Regions from separate parts of the Homo sapiens genome. Here all the other regions are linked to region 2. Evidence: promoter capture Hi-C in 16 types of primary human blood cells and fetal thymus (Javierre and others, 2016). All regions are on one chromosome and are shown on one strand. Each heading gives the region's core, a stretch centred on a gene start or on the middle of the fragment in contact. The rest is flanking DNA. Distances are from core to core; before and after follow the strand shown. Region 1 overlaps L3MBTL3 (L3MBTL histone methyl-lysine binding protein 3). Region 2 holds the start of ARHGAP18 (Rho GTPase activating protein 18). Region 3 has its middle 11 kb from the start of L3MBTL3.

Region 1 (4,055 bases), core at 921-3,420, 310 kb after region 2:
CCTTTAGTTGAGATTTGTCTTTTATATGAGCTGTTCATTTTACTGTCTGATAAGTGTAAGGCAATTTTATATAGTTTCTTAGCTGTATAGTTATGTATAGTCCGAGTAAGTAGTCCCTTTTGGTTCTAAGACTGTAATTTTGTTTCACTGAGTACGAAATTATTTCTGAATACTTGTATAATTTGTGATTTAAAGTCCTTAAATACATGGGCAAAAATTTTATGTAATATCTATTCTTTTTCCAGTGTGTTTTCTGTAAAATATCTTTAATTTTAAAGATAAAAGCAGTGAGGGAAATTAAAGTTGACTCAAATGATCCTTGTAACTTTCACCTGCCTGTCATATACAACAGGAGAGACGTTATTGGGTGAATTTAGGACATGGGAATGATACGAATGATTAAAATCCATTTCAACTCATCTAGAACCAGCTTATTTTATTTTAATTTACCGAGTGGCATGGTGTAAAATTATGCCTAAGTGATTCAGAATGTAAGCTTCTTAACTGGGGATGGTGGATTTGAAGGTTTCTTTTTGATGACAGTGTTTTGATTTTACCTTCCCTCTCTTTAAACCAATGCTAGAACCCTTAGGAGAAATCTTGAGAGTGGACAGCAATTGTGAAGATCGCCAGAGAGTTCTGTGTTTCATCACCGCCGAAAGGTAAGACCCACTTGTTGAAATAAATTGCTTGACATACCTGCAAATGTTAAAAAGCTGCATTTGGAGATCAGGAAGGAGAGTATGAGACTGGGTTGGCAGAAAAACATCATTTTGTGGGGCTGCTTTGAATGCATGAATGTATTGACACTAAATGTAATTGTAGTTTGGATGAAACATTAGGAAGTTAGGAGATTGTCCTGGATAATCTTTGTATTGCCTTACTTACTAGATTCTTAATTAGCATTTTAGCACCTGTTTTCTACTGAAAGTAAATGTTTTATTCTTTGGAGTTGAAAAAGTGGAAAAACTGGAATAAAATGATTGTAAATTAATATAAGTGTTACATTGTTATACAGTGATATGGAAGATTCTGGAACTCTAAATGTCTTGGGGGGCCAGTGGTAAAATTTTGTGAATGAAATTTACATTGGGTGCTTTGGGGGTATTTGTCACATAACTTCTATGGCTTAAATCCAAGATGGGCTGACTTGTGCCAAGTGCCATGTTGCAGGGTTATGAGTGAGTTTCAGTGTGTTAGCTTAGACTTGTCAACTTTTGAACATACTTCCACAGGGAATACAGCTGTTGTCTACTAAGATCTCTTTAGTAATTTTGGAGGGTGTTGGCTTCTTTCCAATACTCCAGGTCCTTCTTTTAGGGCAAAGGTCATTCTCAGGCAGAGGGGACAGCCATCTCTGAAGGTAGAACATTTCAGTACATTTTTGCTACTCCAGTGCTTTCTACTGTTTATACCTTTTTTTTTCTTCCTTTAATCTTCCCCTCTCCTTTTCTGCCTGTTTTCCTGCCCTCTCTGTCTTGAGTAATAAAGGGGTCGCTAAATCTTGTTTGGCAAAAACAAAAGAAAACCAAAATTAGCCTACCTTTTTAGAGCAGAACTAACAACCTTCATTGGGCCAGGTGTAATCTAGAAATCAAAATGACTAATTATTGATATAAAAATGATTAACAGGAGTTTATTGTCATTTGCTGCTTGTGGATCATTTTGAATTGTATAATTAGCAAAATAAGTAGATCTGGTCCATGTGGATATGCAGCAGAGACAATGGGGCAAGAACAGCTATAGGAAGGTCCTGCAGACAACTAGGGTTCAAGAAGAGTAAAATCAGTTTCCTAAGATGGTGAATTTCATGTTTAAATGTGCTGAGTTGAAGACACTGCTTATTTTTCTTTGTCTGCGGAGTCACTGTGTCTGTGGATAGAATGCTAGAATAGGAATCAGAAGACTAAATGTAATAACTAGATATATCACCTTGTATATGTCACTCTACCTCCTTCAGCCTCCATTTCCTCATCTACAGAGCGGGAACAGCAATACTTGCCTTGCATCTTTTGTTAAAAGAATCAAATAAAATCAGATTTTGAGAACCATAAAGAGTTATTCAGATGTATAGTGGTCATATCATTTTACCTTCGTCCAGCTTTATGAAGGGCTGGAGGTAGATTGTCTAAGTCAGAATATAGTGATTTAACACTTGGCTAAAACTTTTAGATTGGTTTCTGATGTGTGTATTGTATGGACTTCTCGGAATATTTCTAGGAGTATATCTTGTCTTGAGAAAAAAGTAGTTTCCCTTGTATACTATTGGCTCTTTGAGGGAAGAGACCATGCTCTAACATGGTGCGGAATACAAAACCGGAAATTTATTTATCCCAAACTAGTCATTTAATAAGTAGAAGGAGTAAATGAAAGAAATACTTTAAAATGATGCCTAATTGTGAAAATGGTAGGGTGATGAAAGTAGAAGGGTTGGTGTGAGGGGAATTAATGTACTGTAATTAATATTTTAGTTGCATGAGTCTGCTGGGAGATGAGGATGAGAAAATAGGTAACTGGAGTAGTAATGATTTAAACTAACTATAGGGGCCAGAACATGAGTCCTCCGAATGACTGAATTTAGGAAATGTCCAAGTAGGGCTTTTCCTCCTTGTTTTCTAGACCTCTTTGGCTGCAATCTAATTATAGCCAACTATGTAAAATCTAGATTAAAAAAATTGTAAGTACTATCTATTATTATTTTTGATTTGATGCTACTGAACCTGACAAAATAAACCCTGACAGGTTTTAGTTTTACTTCATCTCCACTCTTTGGAGATTATCCAATCAATGTTCTAAGAATCCAAAAACCCAATAGGAGTGGAAAAAAGAAGTATATGTCCTGTTTAATTAGTCCCTGAGTAATTGAGAGTTGATTCTTAAAGAATTTTGACTGGGTTGGTAGTTTATTTTTAAGAATTCCATATTTCAGCCAATGCTGTTTATAGTAGTGCAGTTAGGATGGGGAATTTATGAGAGAACTTACTTTATGTGGTGGGTGGGATGTACCGTTGGCATCCCAAGGATGGATAACTTGAGTGATCCCTGCGGTATTGTTTCTACTAGTTACTTAACCAGTTTTTTTCTGAGCTCTTATGGTGTTGAACACTTAAAAGACGAGATCCTTGCTCTTGAGGAGTTCTAGAGATCCTTACTCTGGGACTAGACATAATGAGCTCTTCTAATAATAGTATAACAGTTGCACATGGTACCATTAGGAAAGGATGAGGGCTCTAGCACTCTTTGGAGCTGTTGAACCAGGAAACATGGATTTCTGGGCTAACTGATGCAGGACCATGGCATATCATCCAATACACATGGCACAATATAATGCATTCCTTTTTTAGTGCTTCGCCTTCAGAAATGAGTAAGAAGCCCTTCACCCACAGTCAAGGAATGTCTAGCAAGAGTCTAGCAAGATGGATTGAGGCGATTCTTTCTTTGACCAGTGTGTTCACAAGGTAACTTTCTGGTGAAGATCTACACTATCTTCCACTGTTACCACTTGCCACTATTGAGGGATTTGTTCCTCACAAGGATTTGGGAATGCTTATAGTATAGGTAAAGATAGTGTCTTTAGAGAGAACTATTTATATGTTCATATGGGTGCACATTTATATGTGACATCTTGAAGTTCAGCGGATCCATGGAAGATATATTTTCTAAAGGGCTTCATTATCTAACAGGAATATTCTCAGATTATCTCTTTACTGTATTAAATTATTTCATTGGTGGTTGTGGATGTAAGTCAATAGTGGGAAATGATGAACGGATTTGTATTGACTGTGGCAGCTATGCAGTGGGTGGATGAAAAGAAGCACCAAGAAAGGGTATCCTTGATATATAACTAAGCTTGATTTATGAAGTAAAATTGGGAAAGACCTTTAGAAAATTCCCATTTGGGAGACAAGATAGTTTGGAGGAATGAACAAGGATCTTTGAGAGGAACTTGAGTAAAGTTAAGTTGGGTGATCTTGGATGAGGGAACTTTCCTCATAAACTGTAGTTTCTTTCTGAGTAGACTTGGAATTGATTAGTTGGATGGTGATTATAAGAAT
Region 2 (3,796 bases), core at 761-3,260:
TCCCTCCTTCCTCCCTGCCCTCAAACCAGGCTCCCATCTTCTCCGGTCAATATCAGGAACGATCCCTAGAACTAATTCAGTGGTGGGAAGTTGGGTCTGGTATGGGCAGGCTACGTGACAGCCAGCAAAGGAGCTCACCTGGAGCTGTGGCCCCACACAGGGCACTTGCCGTGTGGGCAGCTGCCCACCCTGCCACCTTAGTGCCTCTTGGTTCTGCTTCAGCCTAGGCAGAGAATGATCTGATCCTCTCTTATTCTCTCAACCCACTCAAGTATGGGCCACCCACACTGCAAACACAGAATAATGAGTCTCCAGAACTGGAGATGCAGCCCCAGACAAAGGCCTAGAACTCCAGACCTTCCAAAAACTTAACTAATCCCTGGGGTTTGAGTCCTACGTGAAAATGAGAGGTTAGGACTCAGTCCTTAAGGTCCTTTCCATTCTCACAATCAAGATCCAAGATTCAGCTCAGGTCCTCAGGCCATTCAGCCTAAAGTCGGAGAATGTCCTGAGCTTGTATAATTTTGGCAATTTTGACTGACATGTGGAATCCAAGTTATGGCTGGGTATGGGGTTGGTGTTGCAGGCTGCTTTACTGCTTAATGATTACTAATACATTACAGAAAAATGGATGAAAACACTTCAAGATCTCTTGATTTAATGATTTAACATTAAGTCATTTAAAATGATGGAAAATGAAATGGTAACACAGCTAAGGCACAAGCACCAAATCTTTTTTATCTTTGGAAATGAATTCATTCAATGAAATACATACTGTGGATGCTATGTGAGAAACAGTTCCCGTCAGCTGGGAGTCTAACACTGAGTATTACAGCCATTCCTTTGATTTTTCTCCCTCCCTCATATTTGGAGATTTTAAAACAAATGAAAGGCAGCATTATTTCAGCTTAAGGCACAGGCATAAGTCACATAAGAACAAAGAAGGTTTTATTATCACATTAAGCATTGAGGAGGAAATGTGCTTACCGATAACTAATTTAGTGTTCTAGGCTATTAGGTTAGTATTTGCTTCTTGCAATCTTCTAGGCCAATATTTACTATTTATATCTTGATGGAGGTAAAAATGTTCAGCTAGTGAGAAGGTCATTAAGGAGAGAAAGAAAAAAAAAAGCCCTTGGAAAATGGAACAAAGTACACAGATAGGGAGAAAGGTACCCTTTGCGCCTCAGTGGTCTATAGAACATTTGCCCTCTCTGCCTATAAAGTGATTTAACATTAACCACATTTCACTCCAGCAGCAGAGTGCTATCTCCTGACAAAAACTCCTTTTTGAAAGCCTGGGGGAAAAAAAATCCACATACACAAAAGAATGTGAAACATATTGCCACAGGCCAGTGTCTTGGGCTTTTTGCCTAAGAGGTTTGCTTTCAGCAAAGAGAGGGGGGAAAAAAAACACTCTAACAACAACAGCTTGTACAGTACAGTGAACAGCCTCCCTGCTTTTTGGCAGACTTTCCCAGCGAACAGTTCCAGTGGCAGTGCCTTGAGCCCATTCAAGAATTCCATTTCATAGGAAAGGAAGTGTTTCAGATAGACCTATTTGATCTTTCAGCATGTGCAAATGCACCTGCTAAATAGCTAGTCTGACAGCCCATATAGCCCTCTCCCCAGTTCCTTCTTCTCTGTCTTCACCAGTAATCATATGGGTTATTTCAGACTTGGACTAGGTGAGATGAAAAGTACATAAAAATCACGCCAAACGTTGCTACTGCTGCTGCACGAGCTCAGGCTCGACGTGCAGATGGAATTCCCTTCTCCCCACGCCAACTTCCCTGTCACTTTCTTCCTGGAGCAGGTAAGAGGGTTTTGTTTTGTTTTCAGCTTCCGAAGGCTTACCTCGAGGTGGCTTCCTCCCCTGCCTTTGCATGGCTGTTCCCGACGGTCTGGTCCTTGCCGCTGGGGTGGTAGGCTGTTAGTACCACTCCCTGGGAACTGGAGAGCCAGCTCATGGTGAGAGAAGGGACATACTTTCTGCGATCCTGACACAGAGAAGGGGAAAGAAGTTCCTGTCTCGCCTGGCAACTCGCTCATTAGCATTGGCCAGCTCCTCCCCGCAGGCTGGCGATTCACACGGGGAGGGGCGGGGTCTGTCCAGGGAAGGGCTTCCTGCCTCTCCAATTAGAAGCTGCAACTCACAGCATGGTTTCAACTCTGGACAATTGCACTCTGGGCGGCTTTGGTTAAAGGAGGCGAAGGGTGGAAGCGACGGGTTGCACCCACCCCCAAGTTAGTCTGATCAGATTAAACTGCCAGAACGTATATTCAACTCATCACTGTAACTACAAGCCGTCTTACTTAGGAAACCATGAGTTGCTGCCAAGGCTTTTTTTTTTCCCTCCCCAATTCCTCTATCTTATAATTTCTGCTACTTAATGTAACATGAGTAAAGGCATTTCTTAACCCCTTCATGTTCAGCGTTAAAATTAGCCATAGTAAAAAACAACGAACCCGCGGCAAAACTCTGCAATCCAGACGACGAGAAAGGCTTGATCCTTGTGTCCGGTTAAAAATGCCCTCATAAAAATTGTGTGTCCTGGAATGTCGTCGTCTTTCACATAAAGCCAATCTCAAATATACGTCTTGTTTTAGCAAAATATTTTTCAGCACCAAAAAGGGATAGACCTACCAATGCTCTGTTAAGTGTTATTGCTGAGAACAAGAGAAGTCCCTGCCATTTGTTGAGCACCTACTATATGCCAAGCTCTCATGGACGGGGGTTTCACATGTATTATCTCATTCCATTCAATTCTCTCTCTCTCACACACACACACACACCGTACAAGATAGGTATCACTATCATCTGTGTTATACATAACACAAGGAAAGTAAGGCTGAGGGACGAGTTAAGTAACTTCACTAAGATAACACAGTTGCTAGTGCCAGAAGCTGGATTTGAACAGAATTCTAGGCTACATTCCTTTTATTTTTCACCAGTATGCTCTTCTTTGTTTTGCAGATTAAGAAACAAGATCAAAATTATCATAAACACAAAAGACAGCTCTGTTCTTTCTCCCCATCTCCCCTCCAAAAAAAAAAATCACTTTTTTGGTTTGTTTTTGAATCAGGGTCTCACTCTGTCACCCAGGCTGGAGTACAGTGGTGATTGTAACTCACTGCAGCCTCAACCTCCCAGGCTCAAGAAATCCTCCAGCCTCAGCCTCCCCAATAGCTAAGACCACAGGCATGCACTACCACGCCCAGCTAATTTTTTTATGCTTTGTGGAGAGGGAGGGTCTCACTGTGTTGCCCAGGCTGGTCTTGAACTCCTGGGCTCAAGCAATCCTCTTGGCTCAAGCTCCCAAAGTATTGAGATTACAGGCATGAGCCACCACGCCTGGCTTCTACTCTGACATACCCAGTAGTCTGAAGGTTTTTTTAGATTTTTATGATTCATTCAACTCTCTAGAATTCCTCTTGAACAAGTTTCCAATTCCATCATTACATAAACTTATTGCTTATACCTTATCATTATTTAAAACAGTCATGAAAAATAATTTCTTCCTCCTTACATACTCTAGAAGTATCTGAAATTTATTTTTGAACCCTCTTTCTTATAATTTACAAAAGTCTTCCTTAAAAGGAATTTATATCTTCCTCCCTCCCCCCTGCACAACTGCTCAACCTTCCCATTTCCACTTCCATAGGACTTTACTTGCTGTCTCCTTTTTATCCCCATGACCTCAACCACCTCTGGATCCTATAATGCAGTCTTAGCTCCAATATTACAACAGCCCTTTTAGCTCATCTCCCTGTCACCTCCTTTAAATTGCTTTGA
Region 3 (3,849 bases), core at 496-2,995, 300 kb after region 2:
GGGCAGGAGGGCAGTGGGGGAGGGTTTTGGGATGGTCCAAGTGCATTACATTTACTGTGCACTTCATGTCTATTATCATTACACTGTAATATGTAATGAAATAATTATACAACTCACCATAATGTAGAATCAGGGGTGCTCTGAGCTTGTTTTCCTGCAACTAGATGGTCCCATCTGGGGGTGATGGGAGACAGTGACAGATCATCAGGCATTAGATTCTCATAAGAAGCATACAACCTAGAACCCTCACATGTGCAGTTCACAATAGGGTCCATGCTTTTATGAGAATCCAGTGCCACTGCTGATCTGACAGGAGGGGGATCTCAGGCAGTAATATGAACAATGGCGGTGGCTGTAAATGCAGATGAGCTTTGCTGGCTCACTCGCCTGCTGCTCACCTCCTGCTGGGCACCGGTTCCTAACAGGCTACATACTGGGGGTTGGGGACCCCAACACTAAAAATTAGAGCATCAGGAAACTTCTTCTGTGTTCCCTGGCAACTCCTCACTTTTCTGTAAAGCAGAATCCTATTCACTTCCTTTGAGAAGACTTCGTCTCTCACCCTCTCATTTTGGTAAGATTTTATTATAGCCTCTTCTGCGAACTCCTTTACTCTTTTACCATTTATGATCCTCCCTTTGGGATTGATCTTGTGTCTTCTAGAAAATGCACTTATTCAGGGACAACCTTGGGTTTTCTCACGCCATCCAGGAGGGCTCCAAACCTCTGAGGAGACCTGGCTGACACCTAGATTGCAACTTTGTGAGGCCCTGAGCAGAGGGCCCAGCTTAGCTATGCCCAGAGCCCGGACCCGTAGAAGCTGTAAGATCATAAATGTGCATTAAGTAGCTACCTTTGTGGTAATTTGCTGCATAGTGATAGAAAACTATATACTGCCTTATTGGGAAGATGTATAGTTTATAAGAAACTGATTCTAGCTAATGTTAGATAGAGAAAAAAAAAGCAAAATTAGACATGTCACGGAATTGAAGGAAAAGCTAAACCATCAGGCCTTAGGGATAATAGGCACAAGGGTGACCGTGAGGGTATCACTGAGGAATTTTGAGGAGTGAGCTTTGAAATAATCTGCCTACATCCACCCTTGTTCCTTATCCCACGGATAAGATTTTTCCTGACAGACTCTAACTGGCCTCATTCTCATCACCTGCCCATTCCTTGATGTCGGGAAGCTTGAGAATGGACAGACCCCAAGACCATGTGGAAGGAGAAAGGAAGTCTCCTAAAGGGAAAGTGTGATGTTCTTAAGGAAAACAAAGGAGAGGGATTTGAGACAGGCCCACACAAAAGAAAGCCACTTTGCTACTGCATAGGGTTGTCAAGAAAAAACATGAGATAATGCATATAAAATGCTTCGCATGGTTCTTGGCACACAGTAGTCACTCAGTACAGTTTAACTATAATTATTAAGCATCAGGGGCCTATGCCTCATCTAGAAAGCAAAAGAAAGAACTCTGTTCTTGAAAATGAAAAGAAAAATCCCAATTTGATAAGGGGAAAAATCCCTGACACTCAAAAGGACAGGCTTAAATGTCTGTTGCTACCTAGATGATTTATAATCAAAGGGTTATCAGAGGTTAGGAAGGTATAGATTTCAAAGTGCTATTTGTGCTGATTATTGCTATGTACTCAAAGTCAAACCAGCTATGAGATATAATCCTCCAAATTCCAGTGGGCCACAGACAGAAGCCAACTATTGGTGGCTGTTTCTCTTCACACAAAACTCTTAATGGTTGGCTCACAGCTCTGATTGTAAGTGGGCTGGATGGTACCTAAGCCCACCCATCCATCCATGCTTAAATCATGGCTTTAAATTTGAAATTTTGGAAAATTAATTCAGATATGAGATGATAGTCATGTTTACTGAGGATCATGAACAGAGTCCACAATATGTTTGTGTACTTGGTATTGAGTGATGTAGTTGTGTTGTTGAAGTGAGGCTTTCCTTTGATCTTTTTGTTGACGAATGCCATTCACTGGTCAGTACAACCATTCTGAGGAAGAACTGTCTATCAGGTGGTGTCATTTTGGGCCCAGAACATCACTGACGGCTGGAGTTCACTTCCATTCCATTCTGTTCTACTCCATAAGTATTTATTGAGCTCCCATTATGTGCAATGAACTGTATTAAGTGCTTTGATAGATTAAAAAATGAATAGATAAGACAGAGCTCCTGACCTTAGGGTATTTTATTATCTCAAAAGAGAGACAAACGTTTACAAGGACCAGACACAATACAGAGCAGGATGTGACAAGTGCTAAAATAGATATAGAGACAGAAGAAAGCTTTAAATTTCAAGTGCGCATACCTGAAGTTTTCATATAAAGGGTGAATTTGAGCCCTTTTAAATCATATGCCCACTAGAACAGGCAGCATTTTATCTGTTTTTGTATTCCTAATTCCCAGCACAGTTCCTGGTACTTAATAGATGCCAATAAAGATGAATTTTTAAATTGCTTGAGGTGTGGAAAAATAGACATAAAATTTGCCATTTTAACCATTTTTAAGTGTACAGTTCAGTGGCAGTAAGTACATTCACATTGTTATGCAAACATCATCACCATCTATCTATGGAACTTTTTAAATCTTTCAAAACTGAAAGTCCAGGACCTATTAAACAATAACTCTTCATTCCTCTCTGCTTCCAGCCCCTGGCAAACACCATTGTACTTTCTGTCTTTATGAATTTGACTACTCTTGTTATCTCATATAAGTGGAATCATACAATATTTGTCCTTTTCTGATTGGCCCATTTCACTGAAATGTCGCCAAGGTCCATCCGCGTTATAGCATGTGTCAGAGTTTCCTTCCTTTTTAAGGGTGAATAATAAAGTTTTCACTGGATATATATAACTGCATTTTGTTTATCCATTCATCCATCAGTGGACATCTGGATTGTTCCCATTTTTGGCTATTGTGAAGAATGCTGCTATGAACATGAATGTACAAATATCTTTTCAAATGAGCTAGAAATTGGGATAGATCAAGAGTGGTCAGAAAGAGGGCATTCCAAGTTCAGGAAATAACATGAACAAAAGGAAAGAAGAATGACAATGCACTAGGCTTGCCTGGTGTGGCTTACTCATGGGTTGGGGCTGCACATGGAAAGGTTGATCTGTTCCAGAAGTTGCAGGGCACTAAGTACCATACCAAGGAGAAAAAGTTTTTCTGAAGTTATTAGGAACCATTTAAAAGGGGTTGGAGCAGGTAAGCAACATTACCAACACTATACTTGAGGAATACAATTGTAATGGCGAAGATGTAGTTAGAAATATACGGTAATAATCTTGGCAGGAGACAAACTAGGGCAGTGGCAGAGGAAATAGTACCAGGAGGGAGTAGAGTTATTTTTATTTTTGTTTGTTTGTTTGTTTGTTTGTTTGAGACAGGGTCAGGGTCTGGCTCTGTCACCAGGTAGGAGTACAATGGCACGATCTCGGCTCATTGCAACCTAGGCCTCTCAAGCCATTCCCCCACCTCAGCCTCCTGAGTAGCTGGGACCAAAGGCACGCACCACTATGCCCAGCTAATTTTTTTGTATATTTTGTACAGACCGGGTTTCACCATGTTGCCCAGGTTGGTCTTGAATTCCTGAGCTCAAGTGATCCACCTACCACGGCCTCCCAAAGTGCTGGAATTACAGTCGTGAGCCATTGTGCCTCCCTGGGAGTAGAGAGATTATAATGGAACTGTTAATAGGATCTGTTGACCAACTGGATGTGGGCGGCAGGAAGAGGAAGTTGTTGTTAAATCAGTGCCTGAGAGCATGGTGACATTACAAACTGAGATGAAGAATGCAGAGGAAAAAGAAGCAGGCAAAAACAATAGCT

The links. The method cuts DNA at HindIII sites, captures the fragments that hold promoters and counts their contacts. A CHiCAGO score of 5 or more calls a contact.
Region 1: a contact is called between a fragment that was not itself captured here and the fragment with the promoter of ARHGAP18 in region 2, in 13 of 17 cell types (neutrophils, naive B cells, naive CD8 T cells and 10 more). The highest score is 11.7, in neutrophils.
Region 3: a contact is called between a fragment that was not itself captured here and the fragment with the promoter of ARHGAP18 in region 2, in 2 of 17 cell types (naive B cells and neutrophils). The highest score is 6.1, in naive B cells.

What each region holds. Positions count from the first base shown.
Region 1 is chr6:130,021,644-130,025,698 of GRCh38, forward strand. L3MBTL3 (L3MBTL histone methyl-lysine binding protein 3) reads left to right here. Exons shown (of 23, transcript NM_032438.4): 2 at 584-662. Among named protein-coding and RNA genes, the nearest start is that of L3MBTL3, 5.1 kb to the left of the region's middle. The HindIII fragment of the contact is 3,353 bases long and covers 495-3,847 here.
Region 2 is chr6:129,708,167-129,711,962 of GRCh38, forward strand. ARHGAP18 (Rho GTPase activating protein 18) reads right to left here and starts at 2,011. Exons shown (of 15, transcript NM_033515.3): 1 at 1,858-2,011. The coding sequence starts at 1,970. RefSeq lists a silencer at 2,285-2,364. The HindIII fragment of the contact is 10,321 bases long and covers 1-3,796 here.
Region 3 is chr6:130,005,595-130,009,443 of GRCh38, forward strand. No RefSeq gene overlaps it. Among named protein-coding and RNA genes, the nearest start is that of L3MBTL3, 11 kb to the right of the region's middle. The HindIII fragment of the contact is 1,114 bases long and covers 1,189-2,302 here.